Regions from separate parts of the Homo sapiens genome. Here region 1 is linked to region 2. Evidence: promoter capture Hi-C in 16 types of primary human blood cells and fetal thymus (Javierre and others, 2016). All regions are on one chromosome and are shown on one strand. The core of a region is centred on a gene start or on the middle of the fragment in contact, and the rest is flanking DNA. Distances in the headings are between cores, read along the strand shown. Region 1 has its middle 22 kb from the start of MFAP5. Region 2 holds the start of PHC1 (polyhomeotic homolog 1).

Region 1 (5,373 bases), core at 392-2,891, 270 kb after region 2:
ACTTTGGGAGGCCGAGGCGGGTGGATCACGAGGTCAGGAGATCGAGACCACGGTGAAACCCCGTCTCTACTAAAATTAAAAAAAAATTAGCCCGGCGTGGTGGCGGGCGCCTGTAGTCCCAGCTACTCGGAGAGGCTGAGGCAGGAGAACGGCGTGAACCCGGGAGGCGGAGCTTGCAGTGAGCCGAGATGGCGCCACTGCATCCAGCCTGGGTGACAGAGCGAGACTCCGTCTCAAAAAAAAAAAAAAAAAAAAAAAAAGTGACACTTATCCTGTTCATTTTAATTTCAAATAATTGGTCTTTGTTTCAGTGCCAGTCCAGACTTGGCACTCACTAGTGGTATGATGCCAAGCAAGTAGCTTCTCAGCTGTAAATTGGTGGCAACATACCTGCCTTAGGGGTGGTTCTGTGAATTAACAAGATTATGTGTTCAAAGGTTTAGTAAGACTATTAATTAAGACTTATTAACTATTAAGTATTAGCTATTAACTATTAAGTATTATTAACTATTAACTATTAAGTAAGACTTATTAATTAATTAATAAGACTATAGGATTTTTTTTTTTCTACTTAAGCTGATTGGTTTCTGTTAAACTGTTCTTGAGTAGGTTGGCTTTTCCATTCTTTCCCTTGTAACGAAACAGATGAATCTTGCTGGCTAGCCAATGAGTAGGAAACTTGCAAAAAATGTGCAATACCAGAGATACTAGTTTCTCTACTGTTTAAAGTGTGTTTAAATGTACCTTTTTTTTTTCCTCATACAGATGGGGGTCTGGCTATGTTGCCCAGACTAGTCTTGAACTCCCAGCCTCAAGTGATTCTCCCACCTCGGCCTCCCAAAGTGTTGAGATCACAAGAATGAGCCGCTGTTCCTGGTCCTAATTTAAATGTAATTAAAATTTTTTTTTTGGCCAGACTCAGTAGCTCACATCTGTAATCCCAACGCTTTGGGAGACCAAGGCAGGAGTTCAAGACTAGCCTGAGAAACATAGCAAGACTGTCTCTACAGAAAATTAAAATACTAGCCAGGCATGGTAGCTGCCCCTGTAGTCCCAGCTACTGGGTATGCTGAGGCAGGAGGATTGCTTGAGCCCACGAGGCCGAGGTTACAGTGAGCTATGATGGTATCACTGTACAACAGCCTGGGTGACAGAGTGAGATCCTGTCTGTAAAACAATTTTTTAAAAGTAAAACTTTTTTAAAAGTGGAATTATTCCAAATGTGGTCTTTGGAACTCTAGGACAGCATTGTTATGGTTTGAATGTTTGTCCCCTCCCAAACTCATGTTGAGTTTTAATTGATGTGGGGTCTTTAAGAGGTGATTAGGGGTCGGGCATGCTATAATCCCAGCACTTTGGGAGGCCGAGGCAGGGGGATAATCTGAGGTCAGGAGTTCGAGACCAATCTGGCCAACATGGCGAAACCCTGTCTCTACTAAAAATACAAAAAATTAGCCAGGCGTAGGGGTGGGTGCCTATATTCCAGCTACTTGGGAGGCTGAGGCAGGAGAATCGCTTGAACCCAGGAGGTGGAGGCTGCAGTGAGTCACGATTGTGCCATTGCACTCCACCCTGGGCAACAAGAGCGAAACTCTATCTTAAAAAAAAGAAGAAGAAATGATTAGGGCCGGGAGCAGTGGCTCACATCTGTAATCTCGACACTTTGGGAGGCTGAGGCAGGAAGATCACTTGAGGTAAGGAGTTCAAGACCAGCCAACTCCAGCCAATATGGTGAAACCCCGTCTCTCCTGAAAATACAAAAATTAGCTAGGTGTGGTGGTGGATGCCTGTAATCCCAGCTACTCAGGAGGCTGAGCCATGAGAATTGCTTGAACCTGGGAGGCGGAGCTTGCAGTGAGCCGAGATCGCACCACTGTACTCCAGCCTGGGTGACAGAGCAAGACTCCATCTCAAAAAAAAAAAAAAAAGAAAAGAAAAGAAAAGAGGTGATTAGGTGATGGCAAATCGATCATAAATGGATTACTGCTGCTGTTATTGCAGGGGTAGGTTAGTTATCACGAGACTGGGTTTATAATAAAAGGGAGTTTTGCCCGATTTCTTCTCTCTGCCTCACCAGTTTGCTTGCACTTGCTGTCCTTCCACCATGGGATGACTCTCATCAGATGATGGCACCATGTTCTTGGACTTCTCAGCCTCCAGAACTGTGAGAAATAAATTTCTTTTCTTTATAAATTACTCAGTTGGTGACAGACTCAATAACACAAAATAGACTAAAACAACAACAACAACAACAACTTTTTAATAAAGTGTTCTGTGCTTTTTTTTTAAACAAACATCATATTCCCTGTGTGGTGGGAAGCAGAAGTATTATTATTCATATTTTTCAGACAGAGAAAAAGGTTTAATAAGACCTGACCAAGTTCACACAGTTTTGGTGCGGCAGACCCACGCCTGAATTCTAAAACTCTAAAACTTCTCAAAGGTCTAAAAGTTCTAAAAGTTAATCCAGTTGCAAAAGGAAGACTCCAAGACAAAGGAGTAGTTTACTTGCTTGCCAAAGGCTTGTTTGGGAGGCTACACCTTAGAAAAACTGGAATAAAAAATACAACCTACTGAAAGAGAAACAAATTAGATTCCTAAAGTCACTAGACTTACTGTTTATCTGTTCGTGGTGGGATTTTTTATTTTTTATTTTTTATTTTTTTGAGACAGAGTCTTACTCTGTGGCCCAGGCTGGGGTGCAGTGGTGTGATCTTGGCTTAGTGCAACCTCCGCCTCCCAGGTTCAAGGGATTCTTACGCTTCAGCCTCCTGAATAGCTGGGATTACAGGCATGCACCGCCACGCCCAGCTCATTGTTTTTGTATTTTGGGGTTTCGTTATTTTGGCCAGGCTGATCTCGAACTCCTGGCCTCAAGTGATCCTCCTGCCTTGGCCTCCCAAAGTGCTAGGATTACAGGCATAAGCCACCACAACCTGTCCGATTTTTTTTTTTTTGTATATGGTTCTCATATCCTCAAAGATTATTACCCACCTTCAGAGATTGCCATTGGCAAAGTCAGAGTGCAGTTGTTTGCATGACAGAGTCAGTAACTTATGGAGGAGACTTGAAGATTTTATTTATTTTGGAAACTAGAACTAGAGGCTATGGCCCTGCTTGTTTTCTTGCTTACCTCAAGGTGTAGAATGCTTTCATGTCCACTGGATGTGAAGTGCTCTCTTATTCAGAACTGAGGCAGAGAAACTTAGTGTGGTGGTTCCTGCCTATAATCCCAGCTACTCCACAGGCTGAAGCAGGAAGACTCCTTGAGCCCAGGAGTTCAAGGCCACCCTGGGCAACAAAAGGTGTGAGAGCCTTGTCTCACAAGCAAACAAACACAAAAACAAACAAGTTGAGTCAGAGCACAGGTGTCTCTTTTGTTTTCACACATCACATACACTCCCCAGGAATTCTGTGGAGACTCAGCCAGTGGCTGTTAGCTATGAATCTGGCCAGAAACAAGAACCTGGAAAAGGCCAAAGAGGTTCCGATTTTTCCTCTTCTCGGAAGGGTAGAGAATCAGTGTGTTTACTGGCTCATCAGTCTTTCTCTTTATCCTGATTTCTTTGACTGACTCCTTCAGGAAGGATAGCCTATGTGTCAGAGCACATACTCTGGAGCTAGACTATATGGGTGCAAATCCTGACTCCACCTCTTCTACGGGGAGGAGGCCTATGCAAACCTACCCCCAAAGGCTGAGGGAGCTGAAAGGCCAGATAAAGAGGCAGACATGCCCAGTTTCTCAGCAAAAAAAACATTTAATAAGAACTTAAAAGCAGAAGCCATGTCCCAGGCATCTGCAAGATGGTGGATCCCCTTGCTGTTACCCCAACCCAGACCCAGGGCTTACATACCATAGGGAAAGGGCATCCGTGCTTCAGAAGGGTTGTGTAGGACAATTGAAGGCCACCCCTCAGGGAAAGGCAAGAATGCTACCTGAATCATAGCCTATAATTTGCTTAAGGGCAGGATTCATAGTAAGTGCCTGTTTATGATAACATCAAGGTTGTTTTAATCTAGGGGCTAGACTTATGGTAAATATGTGTTCTTAACAGTAGATAAAGTAGAGATCTTAGAGGTATTACTGGAACTGGGGGTTAATCAGAAGTCAACGTGGTGTTTTAGCAGCCAAGATGGAGTTACTTTAGCCTCCGCCCCACCATTATGATTCAAACCATTCTATGCCTCACTTTTCTCATCTGTAAAAGAGATCAGTGATACAAAACCCTTAAGGCTACTGCGAGATTAAATGAATTAAGTGGTTTAGGGTAGCACCGGCACATAGGCCCTATGTAAATGTGAGTGAGTCATTATCCTTTAGTCAACAAACAACTTTTGAACACCAAGTGCCCAGGGCAGTGCTGGGATGCAAAGTTAACTAAGACATGGCCTCTGCATTTGAAGATTAAATTAGAGTCACTTCTTTTTTTTTTTTGAGATGCTGTGTCACCCAGGCTGGAGTGCAATGGCACAATCACAGCTCACTGCAACCTCTGCCTCCCGGGTTCAAGCAGTTCTCCTGCCTCAGCCTCCTGAGTAGCTGGGATTACAGGCGTGCACCACCACGCCCGGCTAATTTTTGTATTTTTAGTAGAGACGGGGTTTCACCGTGTTGGTCAGGCTGGTCTTGAAATCCTGACCTCATGATCCTCCCGCCTCAGCCTCCCACAGTGCTGGGATTACAGGCGTGAGCCACCGCGGCCGGCCTAGAGTCACTTTATTGCTCAAGTTGTTTCTTTCTGCTTTTAATAACACCTTTTGCCTCCTACAATGACATTCATTGTCTTGTTTTCTTTTCAGGTTTTTATCATTTTTGATAATAAAAAATAAAGTAATGCTTTAAATTATACTATAAATTTATCATGCTCCTGTTCAGGGAAGGCATACATCTGCTCACTGCCTTTAGTTCTCCTCTACACATCTGCTGCCTAGTTTTGGCCAAGTGAACTTTCCACTGATATCCTGGGCTCTTTCCTCCCATTCCCATATCTGTTCTTTCTTCTCCTCAGTCCCAGAGCACTTATCATTTCTGCACCCCTTATTTATGGACTTTCTCCTCTGATTGTACAAACTAATAGCATCCCTAAAGAGAGAATAGCCCAGTCATTGCTTGTTTCTTTTTTCTGGCTATTCAGTCCCTAGAAGTCTCTGAGTTTAATCAGTTTTTTTTTTTCTTCTGGGGAAAGAGCTTTAATATCCTGGTACACCATGGTGAGCAGAAGCCCAGGCAAAGCATCTACACAGGCAGGTGTGTGTGGTTTTGAGCCCACCAGGTCCCACTTTGTCTCATCACAGTCCCTCCCTAAGGTGCTGCCTAGAATTCTGCACAAACGTTCTTACTCCCAAAGCACAGGGCTTTCTTCCAGCTTGCTT
Region 2 (5,916 bases), core at 1,399-3,898:
CTCTCATAGTAGTGCTGTAAAGTCAACACTGTTATCCTCATTCTACAATTTGAGACATAAGGTTTTCTGAGGTTAAAGAAGTTGCCCTAGTAAGTATCAAGTCTTTGGACTAACACATGCTTCTTCAAACCAAACTGTAATTAAGGCAGTGTCATTCACTATGATAGTGAGTAGTTATCCTCATTTTATGGAGGAGGACCTTAAGATACAGACACATTCAGTGGGTCATGGAAGGTCATAAAACTAGGAAGCAGAAGAGCTCACCTACAGCCCACATAGCCCAAATAGCTGCCTGGTTCCAGCTCAGGCTACTAATAACACCTCAGGCATGTTGCTTTCCTTCCTTATACCTGTTTCCTCACTGCAAAGGAGGCTTCATACTGAATGTAATATATCATTTTAAGAAATGACTCCGGAGTATGAAACATAGAAATACACACAATGAAAATCTTCAAGAAAGTAAGATGCAACTTTATAATCTACTAACATGTCAGAATTTACCCACTGGGGACTACACTTACATTTGCAAAAAGACACATATGAAAACACTGCTAAGAACCAAGCAAAGAGGCAGGAGATGAGAAGAAGAAATATTCTTCCAAAGCAGCACTAAATGACAATAAGGTTTTTACTCATTCTTTTTTTTTGTTTTTCTCTTTTGTTAAGCTACACACTATTTTCTCTACTTCTGAGGCACTGGGCCACTAGAAATATCAGGTCACCAAAATATTATCTGGCTTAAGAATATAAACATCAAACCAGAATTTCTGCTAAGTGTTGTCAACAGTTTCATTAGGGTGAATGGACTGGTCTTAGGGATTGCATCCAAAACAAACAAACAAGCAAAGTATCAAACTGCTTGGCCTTGGCAATAAAGCTGAGGATATTTCTTATTATCTCATTCCCAGTATCATCCAATCACACTATTATCCCCCCCCAGTCTTTAGTTTCATTTAGGACTAGCAAATGTCACTGCAAACATGTATATTACCCAAAAAGTACATAGGAAAAATCATATCAGCTTCAACTAGTCTACCTTCTCCCCACATCTTTTGCCAAAATATCAAAGCACTAAACAGATACAGACCCATGAATCCTCATTATCAGCATGTGAAGAAAAAAAGTGGGTAAGGATTAGAGGCAGCACGGCACAGTTTTATAGATTACTGGATTTAGTTCACTGGACTCAGAGACACGAGACCCCTTTGCTAGGTATAGAGAACATAATTCCTACATTCACATGTGAAAATACAAACCGTATGACCCCTCGTCTTCCCAAACCTGAATTCTGATTAATAATTTTTTTTGGATTGTGAACTAGAAATAAAAATGTAAAGGGACCAACTTAAAAGTCTCAATAAAATCAAGGGAAACTGCCACCAAAACCAGGATTCCTGGATCCCGGGCACATAAATGTATTCATTTGTGATCAACATTATGACTACAAGATTAAATATAAAAAATGGAGACAACAAACAGTTTGGGCAGCACCAGGTATCAAAATTTTCCAAATTAAACTGGAAGACAGTGAGAAGCTGATCCACAGATGCCCCCAGAGTAGCTAAGCCATGGTCATCTTAAAAGGTAGCATGTGGGCATACATGGGGTTGGGTAGGCGCACAGACCTACCGAAGGGAGTTAGAATGGGACATTGAGGTGGACTTAGCATTGGGCCGAGAGTTGGAGAAAGTCAATATCCCTAAGCACGAAACTCTTATCATGCAGAAAGGATGGGACATAGGAAGGGGGACGGGAGAAGGGGGTGGTTCAGGGAAGACTGTGCCAAAGACACGGTAATAATCAAGAGAACAGGGAGTAGACGCCCAAGGGTCCTCGTTCTATATAGAACCTTGATGAAAATGATGTTTCAAAGAGAAATCAAATACACTGGGGGAAGGGGGTGGATCCAGTGGTGCGCCGGGAATGAACTGACCCAAGTGAGCTGGGACATGTGCATACAGAGAGCAGAGGCAGAAGTCAAGGAACTGGAGGCTGAGGAACCCAGCGGACCACGAAAGCAGGGAGATAACTAGACAGCATGCTCGGCTGGAAGGACCAAAGTCAGAGAAGGAAAAATGAATAAGAAAATGAGCAGTCAGAGGCAGCTAGGGTGACGGACAGACAGCATGAAGCGCAGCAGAATGAATAGCCAGAAGACTCGGACAGGCAGAGCCGAAGGACCGCAGAGCTCAGCGCCGGAGGTAGGCAGGGAAAGCAACTGGGGGAGGTACCTGGGGCGTTACACAGATGGAGGTGGCTGAGGATACATCCCCGCGCAGCCAAGCCCCCAGAGGTCCTGCCCCTCCCCGGCCCTCGGTCGCCCGGTTACCTTCTCGCCTGGCTGTGCACCCAAGTCTTCCCCGGGGGCGTCCACCTCATGTGCCGGGGTCCCCAGTCGCCAGGCTGGGCTGGGGGCTCGCTCGGCCTCCGCGGCGGGCTCCCCTCGCCTCCTCCCCTTCCTGGAGGGGCGGGGGCGCCGAGGGCGGGGTGGGAGGCGCCCGGCGCGACCGCGGCTCCCCGCCCCTCCCGCCGCTCCGGGTGCGGGCCCGGCCGCGGCTCAGCCAGGCCTCCGGGGCTCGCTCCGGGCCTGTCACTTCCTGCCCGGCCGAGAAGGTGGGGGCCGCAGGCCAGGGGCTGCGGGCCGGGCTGGAGGAGGGGGCTGCGGGGAGGTGCTTCCGGGGCAGCCGGACCCCCCCCCCGCCGTCCCTCCGCCTCCCCTCGGCGCCCTCCGCCCCCTCCCTCCCGCGCGTCCCTCGTTTCCTGCCGGCGCCCGTTGCCATGGCGACGCAGCTCCCGGGCCTCTGCGCTCCAGGCCCAGGGGTTTTTTCCTCTCTTGCTCTCTTTCTCCTCTTTTTTACCCCCTTCTTTCTCTCCGAGTTCTGCTCGCCGGTTGGAAGGACGAAACTAAGAAAGTGCTGGCCTCTAGTGGGGAACGCACCTCTCGGAGAGGAGAGGGAGATGGGAGAAGGGAGGGAAGTGACGTGAGACGGGGAGAAAGAAGGTATTTTCTGGAGCTGCTGGGAATAAGGGGTAGAAAGAAAGGATCAAAGGGACCAACAGACAGAGAGGGAGAAAGAGCAAAGCAACGACCCCTAGAGAAACGATAGACTGGGAAAAGAAATGAAGCAAAGGAAAGGAAGGAAAAGGCGAGAAAAACTTTGAGAATGAGAGAAAGGAGAGAGAAGGTTGATTGTTTAATCCCTCACCTCAACTCCAAGAAGGCGGGAAAGAATGCTGCAGAAACAGCTAACCCATTAGGAGTTGACTTCATTTTCAAAGCAGCAACCTAATGTAACTTCCTTTGGATAGCATTTAAGTTTGTCATTTCAGGGATTTGTGTGTGCTTCGATTTCAATATGTATATGAGTTCGAATGACAAAAACGGGAAAAGGCCAGAGTATAACGAGATGTAGAACAATGGGGCTGTCTCTGGGAACACTAAACATTTGATAGGGGAGCCGTTGTCGTTGTATTTATGATATCAACTTACCGGTTTTTAATTACTCTCTCATCGTTCAACATTCAATAAATATTTATAGAGCGTCTACTATGTGCTAAACCGTGGAAGCTTGGATTGCATCAGTGCACGAAACAAAGATAACTGCCTTACTGCCTTCATTAACCTTTACAGAAGGGTCTGGGGGATGCCTCGTGGATTAACAACTGGGATTGATGCCTTTTCTCTTGCTCTCAGTCTTTTCCTAACCTCTATCCTAAACAGTTATTTTCTCTGTCAATCCACTCTTCCTTTTCTCCTTTAAAAGCCCATGCATGGTTTGTTTATAGAGAAAAAAACAGAAGTGTTATCTTTGCTTATAAATTATATCCATTTAGATTTTGCTTTGAGAGAGGAGTATTTGGACTCCAAGGTCTTTCATTTGTGGCAGCCAGATTAAAATCGGAGAACAATTTCTGCCAGGCTTCTAGGAACTAGTCAGACAGGTATGTGAGGGAAGAAACCGGAGGGCAGCCAAAGGACTGGAAAAGCGAAGACACGGGGTATGAGGAGGTGAAAGGGTGTGTTACCAGGCCGTGGATGACAGGCACTGGCTGAGGATGATTTGAAAAGATTCTGACTGGTAGAACTAGTGGTGAAAACGAGGTAAAGCATTCGTTGTTTAATTCACACCTGGATTTTTGGCATGTCAAAGCAGTTAAAGCTTTCTTGCAGAAGTTTAGAAATGGATATCGATTGAGCCTAGGCGGAATTTTCTAGCACCAATGGAAAAAAAAAGCATCTATAGATAATTTTCAGATTATACAACATTAAAGTTAAGAAACATGACTCATGTGCTTCCTTAGTTTCCCTGGGAGAATTATCACTGTTAAGTGTCTAAAGAAGATTTGTAAGCTATAACAAGAATAAGGAATGCAGATATCAGAGGGTATGGACTTGTTTTTCTATAGCCTATGGAACTTGTGTACCAAGAGGGTACATGACCATATCGCATTTCACCCTCCTTACAAATGGAGCAGAATTACCGCTACTGCATATAGTTACATTCCACCCCTAAAGATTTTTTTTTTTTATTTACTAGGTCACCGGCTCCTATAGCTACTAGATAATGTTAGGGGATAAGCGATGAATACTTTTGTTGAGTGCCTGTTATAAATTTAGCCTGAGAATAATCTATCATGAGGCGAGCTATACTGATTATGGGCCAGTAGTTTAATTTTTATATGTAAAGGTGTGTGCTCCATATATCACAGGATTCTTTTCAAGTTCATTTTTCTCCAAGTCAGGCCAGTGTTCTAAGGTCATAGGTCTAAACAGTTCCCACCAAAAAAGATTTAGTATAAAAAAGAAATATATCAACAGCAAAGTAAAGTTATAGGAAAGCCTCCATCCATAAGAAAATCATTTTCATAGACTAAATCAGCTTGAGAGCAGGCATTGAAGAACTTATCTCGGTCTAAACAGCAAAACAATCTGTGTTCCCTAGAGAATACTCAACTTTTTTTTCTTAATTTTTCTAAAGTTTCTCATTTTCATTTAATGACTCTGCTTGAATTAGACTTTTCTTTTTCAAACAAAATGGTTCTTCTGAATGGAGGCTACAGAATGTCTTTACTCTGCATAACACTGAAGGCCATTAGCCTAAACAGGTGAGAAGGAAAAGCATTTAATCCGGTGTATGGAAATGGAAGCCCTCCTGCAAACTTCTCTAAATAAGGAAGGATCCTGGTTTGAAAGGCTGTCGATGTTTGGCAGCAACTGAAGCAAATAGACTAGAAGTTAAGCTAATAGAACTTTTCATATCAACTGAACATTGCTTAAGCATTCCTCAAGCTTCTCCTGTAAACCTAGCATTCTGCAATAAATTGTGAAGGAAGAGATGTCCTTTACCCTAAAGGTGTTAGTATCTTTGGAATGTGTCTTTCTACAAGTAATCAAGTAAGAATGTGTGACCATGTTTTTATGCAAATATGGATAGGAAGAAGTAGAGAAAAAAGGAAATCATAACCTTTACTCTCCCCACCACCAACTGTGGCTGTGAACCACCATACACAGCCCACCTGTGTCTCACTATAATTCTGCATGCCACTTTAAGGTCTAGTTGGGAGAAAATGAAGATTGAGTGGATTTATAGGCTCTTAGATATTTAAAGGAAAAAAAAAGAACTTTAAAACTAAGCCCCTCAGTTTTCAGTGAAGACAATTGAAGTCTAAATGATAAATGTAGAAGAGGGATATTTCGTAATCCCTGGAAAATAGAAAATGTCCAATAAATATTAGTTAACTGAATTAATTTCCTAGATTCTTGCCCTTCTCTCATAGGAAAAGAATATGAAATTAAAAGATATAAAGGATACCTCTCATCTCTCGCTACTAATACCTACCATAGATCCTTTCTTCAAGCAGAAGTTTAAAATTAACATACTAATTGGTTCAGCCCAATATTCCATCCATCATTGC

What was found. The method cuts DNA at HindIII sites, captures the fragments that hold promoters and counts their contacts. A CHiCAGO score of 5 or more calls a contact.
Region 1: a fragment that was not itself captured here is called in contact with the fragment with the promoter of PHC1 in region 2 in 2 of 17 cell types (naive CD8 T cells and fetal thymus); the score reaches 5.6 in naive CD8 T cells.

What each region holds. Positions count from the first base shown.
Region 1 is chr12:8,638,069-8,643,441 of GRCh38, reverse strand. It overlaps the pseudogene HADHAP2. Among named protein-coding and RNA genes, the nearest start is that of MFAP5, 22 kb to the left of the region's middle. RefSeq lists enhancers at 3,352-4,268, 4,476-5,283. The HindIII fragment of the contact is 9,502 bases long and covers 1-5,373 here.
Region 2 is chr12:8,911,241-8,917,156 of GRCh38, reverse strand. It overlaps PHC1 (polyhomeotic homolog 1), which reads right to left and starts at 2,648. Exons shown (of 15, transcript NM_004426.3): 1 at 2,330-2,648. RefSeq lists silencers at 2,197-2,486, 2,557-2,606, 2,657-2,766 and an enhancer at 4,963-5,515. The HindIII fragment of the contact is 8,234 bases long and covers 1-3,570 here.